3 separate regions of the Homo sapiens genome follow, and all the other regions are linked to region 1. The links are contacts of gene promoters, found by promoter capture Hi-C in human tissues and cell types (Jung and others, 2019). All regions are on one chromosome and are shown on one strand. Each heading gives the region's core, a stretch centred on a gene start or on the middle of the fragment in contact. The rest is flanking DNA. Distances are from core to core; before and after follow the strand shown. Region 1 holds the start of ASTN2 (astrotactin 2). Region 2 overlaps ASTN2 (astrotactin 2). Region 3 overlaps ASTN2 (astrotactin 2).

Region 1 (2,907 bases), core at 214-2,713:
GCTCCACTGAAGGGCCGACTCCTCCGGGATTCGCGCAGGGAACCAGCAGGCAGCAAGCTGCTGGCGAACTTTTCTGATTAACTTTTCCGTTGGAGCCCCCCACCCACACCCATCTCCTCTCCTCTCCTTTTTCTTGCCTTTAAGTAATTATTATTAGCCCAGGGAGTGAGCTGCAAGGACAAACCGGCTCTCTGCCTGGAGGTGGGTAGAAAGGGAAGGCGGTAACGGGGGTAGAGGGAGGCTCTAAACGTGGAGACCTCGGAGTCGGAATCCCAGTTCTCAGCAACCACTCAAGTCTCTCCAGCCCTATTTCACAGATGGCCAGAACTGAGGCTCAGAGAAGGGAAGCGACTTGGCCAAGGTCACTCAGCCCATGCGGAAGCCACGCTTTTGCGGGTTGAGCGATTCCACACGGAACTACTCCATTCCTACTCTCATGAAAATCCATCTGGAAGGGCAGAACCCGCAACTCCGAGGCGAGAGCGAGGGGGCGGTGACGGCGGGTGGCCAGTGACGGTACCCGGAGAAGTGGGAGGCTCGACCTGAAACTGGCTTAGGATCTGGGATGCTCCGGCCCCTAGCCAGAGCACCTTCAGTGAATGGGGTCTCCGGCTTCCGGGATGGATCAAGCAGAGCTCCAGGTCGGGACTGAGAGGCAGAGGGGCAGGTTCCCACTGCGGGAGGGTTGGCACGCCCCCAGGCTCCCGCCGCGCGCTCTCCAGGACCTCCTCCCACATGCTCGTTTCCAACCACCTGTGCGACCTCTGGGCCCCTCCTCTACCCTCTGCCAACCCCACTCGGGGCAGCCCCGGGCAGGGATCCCCAGGGCGCCCCCACCCGTCCGGCATGACGCAGGGGCTCGGGGTTCCTTGGGATCTAGCGCGTGCCGGCGCCCAGCCTTACCCAGGGTGAAGAAGGGCAGCTCGGTGTTGTCCAGGTCGTCCTGCACCGCGATGCGCCCCGGCAGCTCGTTACGCACAAAGAGCAGGAGGCGCGACTCGGCGGCGGTGCCGGCAGAGCCAGGAGAGCCCGGGGACGCGGCGGCGGCGGCGGCTCCGGCCCCGGTCCCAGCCCCGGCCCCGGCGCGGGCGCCGCTCCAGCCGATGTCGCTCTCCCGCAGGGCGGGCAGTGTGGACACCGTGACGGTCTTCAGCCGGCACGGGCTGTCGGGCTCCCGCGAGGCAGCGGCGGTGGCGCCGGCCAGCAGCGGCGGCGGCGGCAGCAGGAGCAGGAACAGCAGCAGCAGCGGCAGCAGTGGCGGCGGCCCCGGGTGGAAGCAGAGCCTCGGCCGCCCCCGGAGCCCCGAGCCGGGGCCGGGGCTGAGCCGGGCGCCGGCGGCGGCCATGGCGGGAGGGGCTGCGGTGCTGCGGGCGGCGGCGGCGGTGGCGGCGGTGGCGAAGGAGGAAGAGGAGGCAGCTGCGGAGACGGCGGACGCCGAAGCGAACCAGGACGCCCGAGCTAAGGAGCGGAGAGAGCCGCTCGCCAGCAGCCCCCAGCTCCGGGCTCCGCCTCCCGATCGGCCCTGGACCGCCCCCCCGCGCCGCCTCCCGGGGCCCAGCCGCCCGTCCCCGATCTCCGGCTCCCCCCGCAGACCCCGAGCGTTTCGGAGGCTCCGCCCGGCCTCGTGCAAGTCCCAGTGGCTCCCTCCCCTTTCCCAAGATCCCCCAATTCCGCCCTCACAGCATTCTTTAGCCACAACACCCCTCCCTAAACTCCCCAAATTCCTAATACTTAGGGCCCCCTCGGGCCCCCCCAAGCCCCCCTGACTCAACCCAGTTCTCCTGGCTTCACCCCACCTTCGGCTCAACCCAGAGGCTGCACCTGGGGGCGCGCCTTGGCCCAGCCTTGCTCAAGGCCCCGCCTTCTTGGGGATAGGGAGCCCCCTGGATAGCCAAGACTTAACTTTGTCTCCCCTCAGGCCCAAGAACAAGTCCTTTCTCCAATCTCCTACCCTTTTCTAGTCTCTGAAATAACTTCCTGTAGCCTCAGAGCCCCCTTCCCACCCACTTGGCCACAACTCCTGCATTCATTCTCCCACTGCCCGCAAACCTTCCTCTCCCCTCCATCCAGGCCTTGTGCTAGCACTAATTGCTAATGGACAGAGGGGCGTCGAACTCCACCGTCTAACGCCGACCCCACAACTGACTGAAGCCGGGCTGTTCTGGCCCCCTAGCTGCCGCCCTGCAAGCCAGCCCACTCACGCTTTTTTATTTTGGATCCCTGCTCCCAGCTTGGAGCAGCTCTACTTGGCTGCTTCTGCTCTCTGTGTGAAATTCCTGAAAAGGGTGTGAGGTAGAGACCTACTATTCTGTCTGTCCTTGGCTCCCGGGTCTTTTAGATCCTCTGCCCAAGTCCCAGAGAACGGGAGTGCTCACCAATTCTTCACCTGCAGTCTTTCTAGACTCAAGTTGAGCTAGGTCCTCAGATTCAGCACCCTTTGGTCTTGGGCTGACTCTGTCTCTGACCCACATACCTGAGACCCTCCAGGGAGCGGACACCTCTGCATGGGTCAAGTGCCGTGCAGCCCCTTCCCCACTCCCCTACTTTTCTTCATCTTCCCTGTCTCTGTTTTCTGTTTCATCTCTCCATTCATTTCCTTCCTTCTCATCTTGACTTTAATCTTACAAATGCTTCTTTCCTATAATTTGTGAGCAACTTCTCATCTCTGTCTAGCTTACCCATCTGCACCTTTTGTGCTGTCTCTATGCATTCACTTTTCTCTTAGCTCTTCCCTCTTCTGTCTCATTCCCCTTTTCTATCTTTAACCCTTCATATAAATTGCTTTTCTCCTCTCTCATCATATATTTTTTAATAACGTTGGATAAAGGCAGAGCACTGAAAATAAGGAAAAAAGCAAAAGCTGTTTTGCGACCTTGGACTTAATGTGTTTAAAGCATTCTCCAAATG
Region 2 (2,907 bases), core at 118-2,617, 240 kb before region 1:
GTGATCATGAGCATGGTCATCTCTTCATGACACAGGTGTGGTTATACCTCTTGGGGAAGGTCATTGTGAGGACTAAATATGAAAATTCATGTGAACTGCTAGACACACTGCATATAATCATTAAATAGCAAGTATTTAATAGTAATAAGATTCAGTTTGGCACATAGTAGGCACTAAATAAATCTCATACTTCCTTTCCTTTGCTTGAGAGTCTTAATTCAATTTCAATTGCATCCACCTTCCAGCCACTCCAAATACAATGTGCTTGTATATCATTGACATCCTCTGTTTCCCATTGTGTGTCTCATCCTTATATGACCTCAGTTGCAATCTTCTTCAGAACTTATCTATTAATTAATGTATTCATCCATTAATATTGATTGAGCACCTGCTAGGTGACAACACTGATGAAGGCACTAGGGATTCAATGAAGAAGGAAGACAAAATTTCTACCTGCATGAAGCATGCTTTCTAATGGGGCAGAGAGCAATAACTGCATCAATAAGTAAAATATAAGCTTTGTCAGATGATGCTAAACACTAAAGAGAAAGATCAGGCAGGAAAAAGAAGCATGAATTGCTGGAGTGAGTGCTATTTAAAATGAGAAGGCCTGGGGAGACCTTATGGGGAAAGTAACATGTATGCAGAGACTGAAGAGGTCACAAGCAGCCAGGTAGGTATTTAAGAGAAGAGTGTTCCAACAGAGAAGACAGCAGATGAAACACCTTGAGGCAGAAGCAGGCTTGGCCGTATCCCATTTCTCATTTTAGTCTTCAGAAAAGAGGCAGGGAGCAGAGTGATTTGATTTTGCAAAACAACTCTGCTTTTCCCACATACTAATATAAGCAAGCCATACCTTGCCAGGTATCGTATCCATTGTCCACATTAGGTTCCACAAATACATGTACCAAGAGACAGATGCCTAGATGTGTTCTGCCCCTTCTTTATGTGACAGGGCAGCATGGTTCTAGGCTGGGCTCAAAGTTGCTGGGAACCGCATCATTACCACCAACCATGCCATCCTGAGATCCTGAGCTCTCCAAGGATGAGAGCTCTCAGCGACATCCCATAGAATTTGGACTAACTTCTCAGGATGCTAGCACTTTGCAGGAGGAATTTAAATAAAACTAGAAACAAACAAAGGCAAAAGAAAAAAAGAAAAGAAAAGAAAAAATATTACGAGGAAGCACAGAATAGAAATATTCTCCTTTGCCCAACTAACTGAAACATTTGCAGGTATGCAATGCCTCACAGAGTACAGGTACAGGGTTAGTGTCATGTCCAAAGAGTAAAGGCTCCAGAGAAAGCCCTGCCTGCATGGGTTCCTGGCCTAGCTGTGTGACTGCAGAAGGGTTGTTTAACCTCTCTGTGGATGAATCTATAAAATGAAACTAATAACAGTACTTTTCTCAAAGCACTGGTGTTAATGTAAAATGAGTTATTTGAGTAAATGTCTAACCTAGTACCTGGTATGGAGTAATCTATTTGATATGGTTTGGCTGTGTCCCCACCCAAATCTCATATTGAATCATAATCCCCATGTGTCAATGGAGGGACCTGGTGGGAAGTGACTGGATCATGGGATCGGTTTCCCCCATGCTGTTCTCGTGATAGTGAGTGAGATCTCATGAGATCTGATGGTTTTACAAGGGGCTCTTCCCCCTTTGCTCCTTCTTCTCTCTCCTACTGCCTTGTGAAGAAGGTGCTTGCTCCTTCTTCACCTTCGGCCATAATTGTAAGTTTAAGTTTCCTGAGGCCTCCCCAGCCATGTGGAACTGTGACTCAATTAAACCTCTTTCCTTTATAAATTACCGAGCCTTGGGCACTTTTTATAGCAGTGTGAAAATGAACTAATACACTATCTAAACATTAGTGTTTAAAAGAATGACTATATACATTTTAGTAAATTCATATAAGGGGACACTATATCGTAATTAAAAAAAATTATCAATACTTGCAACAACATGGATGAATCTCAAACATGATGTTTTGAGTGAAAAGAAGGCAGACACAAAATAACGCATCTGTAGGATCGCATATCTATGAAGCACAGGAAATATCAATTTATGATCTAAGAAGCCAGAGTACTGTTTACTTTTTATGGGTGGACATGGTCTAGGAAGGTACAAAAAAATGAAACATAAGGGGTGCTAGAATTATTCTATCATAAGGCTGCCCAGCAGAACTTTCTGTTACAATGACATTGTTCATATTCTATGTTGTGTGATACAGTAGGTACTGTAGAATAGGCATATGCTGCCACCGGGTCCTTAGAATGTGGCTTGTTTGACCAAAGAACTGGACTTTTAAGTTTAATTAATTTTCATTAATTTTAATTTCAAAGGCCACTGTATCGGGAGGCACAGATCTATATGTTGGTCTGGGTGGTGGTTACTTGAGTATAGGCATACATAAAGAAAACCAAGAATACATTTAAGTCTAGTGCAATTTATATGCACTGCATATACTTTATTGAGTGTTACCTTTTAAAAATTAGCTATGACTATTAATCTACATGCATCACCTCATACATTCCTCACACACTTGAGGTAATATAGAGAGGAAAGTCCCCATTGTCCCCATTTGTGAACTGGTTCAGCTGTGGCTCAGAGAGGTGGATGTGATCTGGGAATGGTCACGTGGCTTGTGAATCCCAGAGTGGGTAACATTTCTATCCAAGTTTTCTCTCACGAATGGGAAAAAGGCAGTGTAAAATAACCTGCTGAGATGATTTCATTCAACAATTCATTCATCAAGGGCATACTGTTTGAGTGCCAGATGCTGTTTTAGATGCTTAAAAGAAAACACTGGACAAAAGGGAAAGTTCTGGTTTCCATGGAGCTTTCATTAGGAATCTTTGCTCATCCCACACTTTGGCCACCCCTTGGGTCCCTTACCTGAAGTAAC
Region 3 (2,907 bases), core at 251-2,750, 220 kb before region 1:
CTCTTCAGAAACCAAGCTCCTGTCCTGCCAAAGATGTTAACCACCCAGGATGGCTTCTAGCCAAGTTACAGGGGTTCAGCATTCATTCCACGGATGAGAAAGCATGCATAGATGAGAATAAACAACTTGTTTAAGGTACTACAGTTTTTAAATGTGGAGAAGAAAGGGCACTCAATAAATGTCTGACTTGGAAATGCCAAGGAATAATGATTCTATGGGCTACTGACTGTAAAAGCATCCACATTTTGAGAGTCCCATGGGAGCCAGGTACCCGTGGGAATTATCTATTTGCAGGCAGGTCGGTGGCCTCTCTAACCATGCTCAGTGGGCAGCACTACATCTACCTGAGCATCAGTGAGTGCCCTTTCCCCAGAGCGTGGAGTCTGAGAATGGCCGTCCATTCTCACCAGGACTTCATAATTCTAGTGTCCCCTCCTGTCCCCACCTGGGACAGTGGGTAGAAGGTCCTGTCTGCCAGACATCCTAACCTCCCAGATAGGAGACTCCTACATCCTGAACAATGTCTTATAAAAGGACACAAAAAAGGTGAGGATTGTAAGCTGTAGAGAAAGAAAACAACGGCACTTAAAAGTGCTCAGGAGATAGGATCAGGAGAACTGCTGTTTACCCACTACCCACTAGGCAGCAAATTAGTCCCTTCCAGTCAGGGATATATTCATTTGCCCATTCACCCATTCATTTTAAACATATTTAGCAATCTCCTATGATGAGTCAAGACAAAGGCATGGGCTGGAACATGGATAGAAAGGAACTCCTTCAGAAGTGGTGTGGTTGAAACGTTAAGATGGCATTGACTAGAAACAGAATGTCCACATCAAAGCCACCATTCCCCACAAACGCTGCATCCCCCATACACCCAGTATTAACTTGCTGTGTAACTTCAGATACCTCTCTCCCCTCCCTGGGTCTCTGTTGAATGAAATGAATATTTCAGACAACATGTCAATAATAGCTTCCATTTCTTGAGTCAAAACACTGTGCTATTTTATATATATGATTTCCTTAATTCTTACAAGAATACTGCAAAACAAGTAATCCCATTTTAGAGGTGAGGAGGTTGAATCTCAAAAGTATTAGTAAGGTGAAACTGGACCCCGGTGTGTCTGGTTCAAGAGTTGGGCATCTTAACTACTTTATCCTCTGCTGTCAAAGTTCTTAAAGGTCTCTTGGTCTCTGATCTGCTGCCAGCCTCTGCCTGGCTGGTAAAACAAAACTCAAGGAGTTGAAAGAGAGTGGTATCCTTTCCTAGACTAATCTGTGCATCCCTACCCTTATACTAATGGAGAGTGAAGATACATACCTTCTAGAAAGTCTTAAAGATCCTAAGGCCTCCCGCTCTTGCTACACAAAATAGGAAGTGAATCCATTGTTCCTGTATACTCTGGGTTCCCACTGCTCAGATCATAAGGGCTGTCTCAATTTCTCCTTCCTCTGGGAGATGTGAGTTCCAATCTCTCAGGAAGGAGGGAGAATTTAGGTTAAGGAACTTAATCAGGTGGTGTTCCTGATGAAGTAGAGAGAGCAGCCCTTCCAAAGCAGTTGCTACCACTCAGCTCCTGCTAAGTGCTGGAAGGCACAAGAATGGGCCTAAGGTTTTGAGATCCTTCAGTCACCAAGTGAGGCAGAAATGTGAATTTCTATGTGAAATTTTCCAATTTATATATATTAACAACTGAATTCAAAAATATACCCTGTAGGCAAGCAAAAACAAAACAAAACAAAACATTATGTAGGGGCTAAATTCTGCCTGTGAGTTTCCATAGTACAATCTCTATTCTCTGCTCTCGTTAGTATCCTCGCTTCTGAGTTGCAACTCTATGTCCAAATCACTCCTTCTCAGTTTGGCCCTAACTGTTTACCACCTTTGCAAAAATTCATTCCCCCATTTTCCAATGGCTTTTCATGTCACTCACAGGAAGAGTCAGTGTCCCTTTCTATCAGGCTCTACATGACTTTCTTACCACTGCTCCTATAACCCAATTTATTCTAGTGCTCTCTCTCTCAATGCTACTCCTCCCTATTCCTCTAGTGCTCCAATCACACTGGTGCCAGGGACCTTTATACCTGCTGTTCCCTCTGCCCAAAAAGCTGTTTCCTCAAATATTCAAATGGCTTGCCTCTTCATCTCCTGTAGATCAGTTTTCATGTGTTATCTGATCATTAAGACCTTTCCTGAGGGCCCTAATTCCCTCCTTTGTTTTCTTTCTCCCCCATTGCAATTATTATCATTCATTATTATATATCTAATATATACATATATTTTGTTCATTTGCTTATAGTCTTTCTGTGCTAGAAAGAAACTGCTATAGAAATTGACTTGCATATATCTTATTTATTGCTTTATCTTCAGTGCCTTAAATAGTTCCTGACACACAGTAGGTACTTAATTAAAGCTTGTTGAATTAATGAATGAAAAATAGATGAATAAATGTTACCTTATTTAACAAATGTGTATGGAGACTTCCCAACAGATATTGAGCTAAACATGTATCAAGAACTTTAAAACATTCAGACCATTTGACCCAATAATTCCACTCCTGGGAATATACCCTGAGGAAATAACACAGAATAGTGAAAATGAATTTAAGACTAAAAATGGTTGTTGATGTTGAATACAAAATAGCAAAAAAAAAAAAAAAAAAGCTGCTAAAATGTCCATCAATAAATACATTATGAAGCAGTCATGAGATAGAATTACATGCATGTTGAAATACTTATTGTATAATATTAAATAAAAATGCAAGATAGAAAACAATAATTTTTCACTTTCAATATATAAAAGGGAAAAGACAGAAAAAATTAGTAAAAAGTTACTGTGGCTATTCAATGGGGCATACAAAAAATTGCTAATTTATACTTTACTTTCAAGTGTTCACTAATGAGCAT

What was found. The method cuts DNA at HindIII sites, captures the fragments that hold promoters and counts their contacts. A contact is called where the count stands out against the background at its distance.
Region 2: a contact is called between a fragment that was not itself captured here and the fragment with the promoter of ASTN2 in region 1, in 3 of the 25 tissues and cell types used here (dorsolateral prefrontal cortex, heart left ventricle and mesendoderm cells).
Region 3: a contact is called between a fragment that was not itself captured here and the fragment with the promoter of ASTN2 in region 1, in 2 of the 25 tissues and cell types used here (mesendoderm cells and thymus).

What each region holds. Positions count from the first base shown.
Region 1 is chr9:117,413,594-117,416,500 of GRCh38, forward strand. ASTN2 (astrotactin 2) reads right to left here and starts at 1,464. Exons shown (of 23, transcript NM_001365068.1): 1 at 904-1,464. The coding sequence starts at 1,345. The HindIII fragment of the contact is 9,596 bases long and covers 1-2,907 here.
Region 2 is chr9:117,170,012-117,172,918 of GRCh38, forward strand. All of the region lies in intron 3 of ASTN2 (astrotactin 2), which reads right to left. Among named protein-coding and RNA genes, the nearest start is that of SNORA70C, 9.7 kb to the right of the region's middle. The HindIII fragment of the contact is 7,792 bases long and covers 1-2,907 here.
Region 3 is chr9:117,188,583-117,191,489 of GRCh38, forward strand. The region is part of intron 3 of ASTN2 (astrotactin 2); the gene reads right to left. Among named protein-coding and RNA genes, the nearest start is that of SNORA70C, 8.8 kb to the left of the region's middle. The HindIII fragment of the contact is 6,473 bases long and covers 1-2,907 here.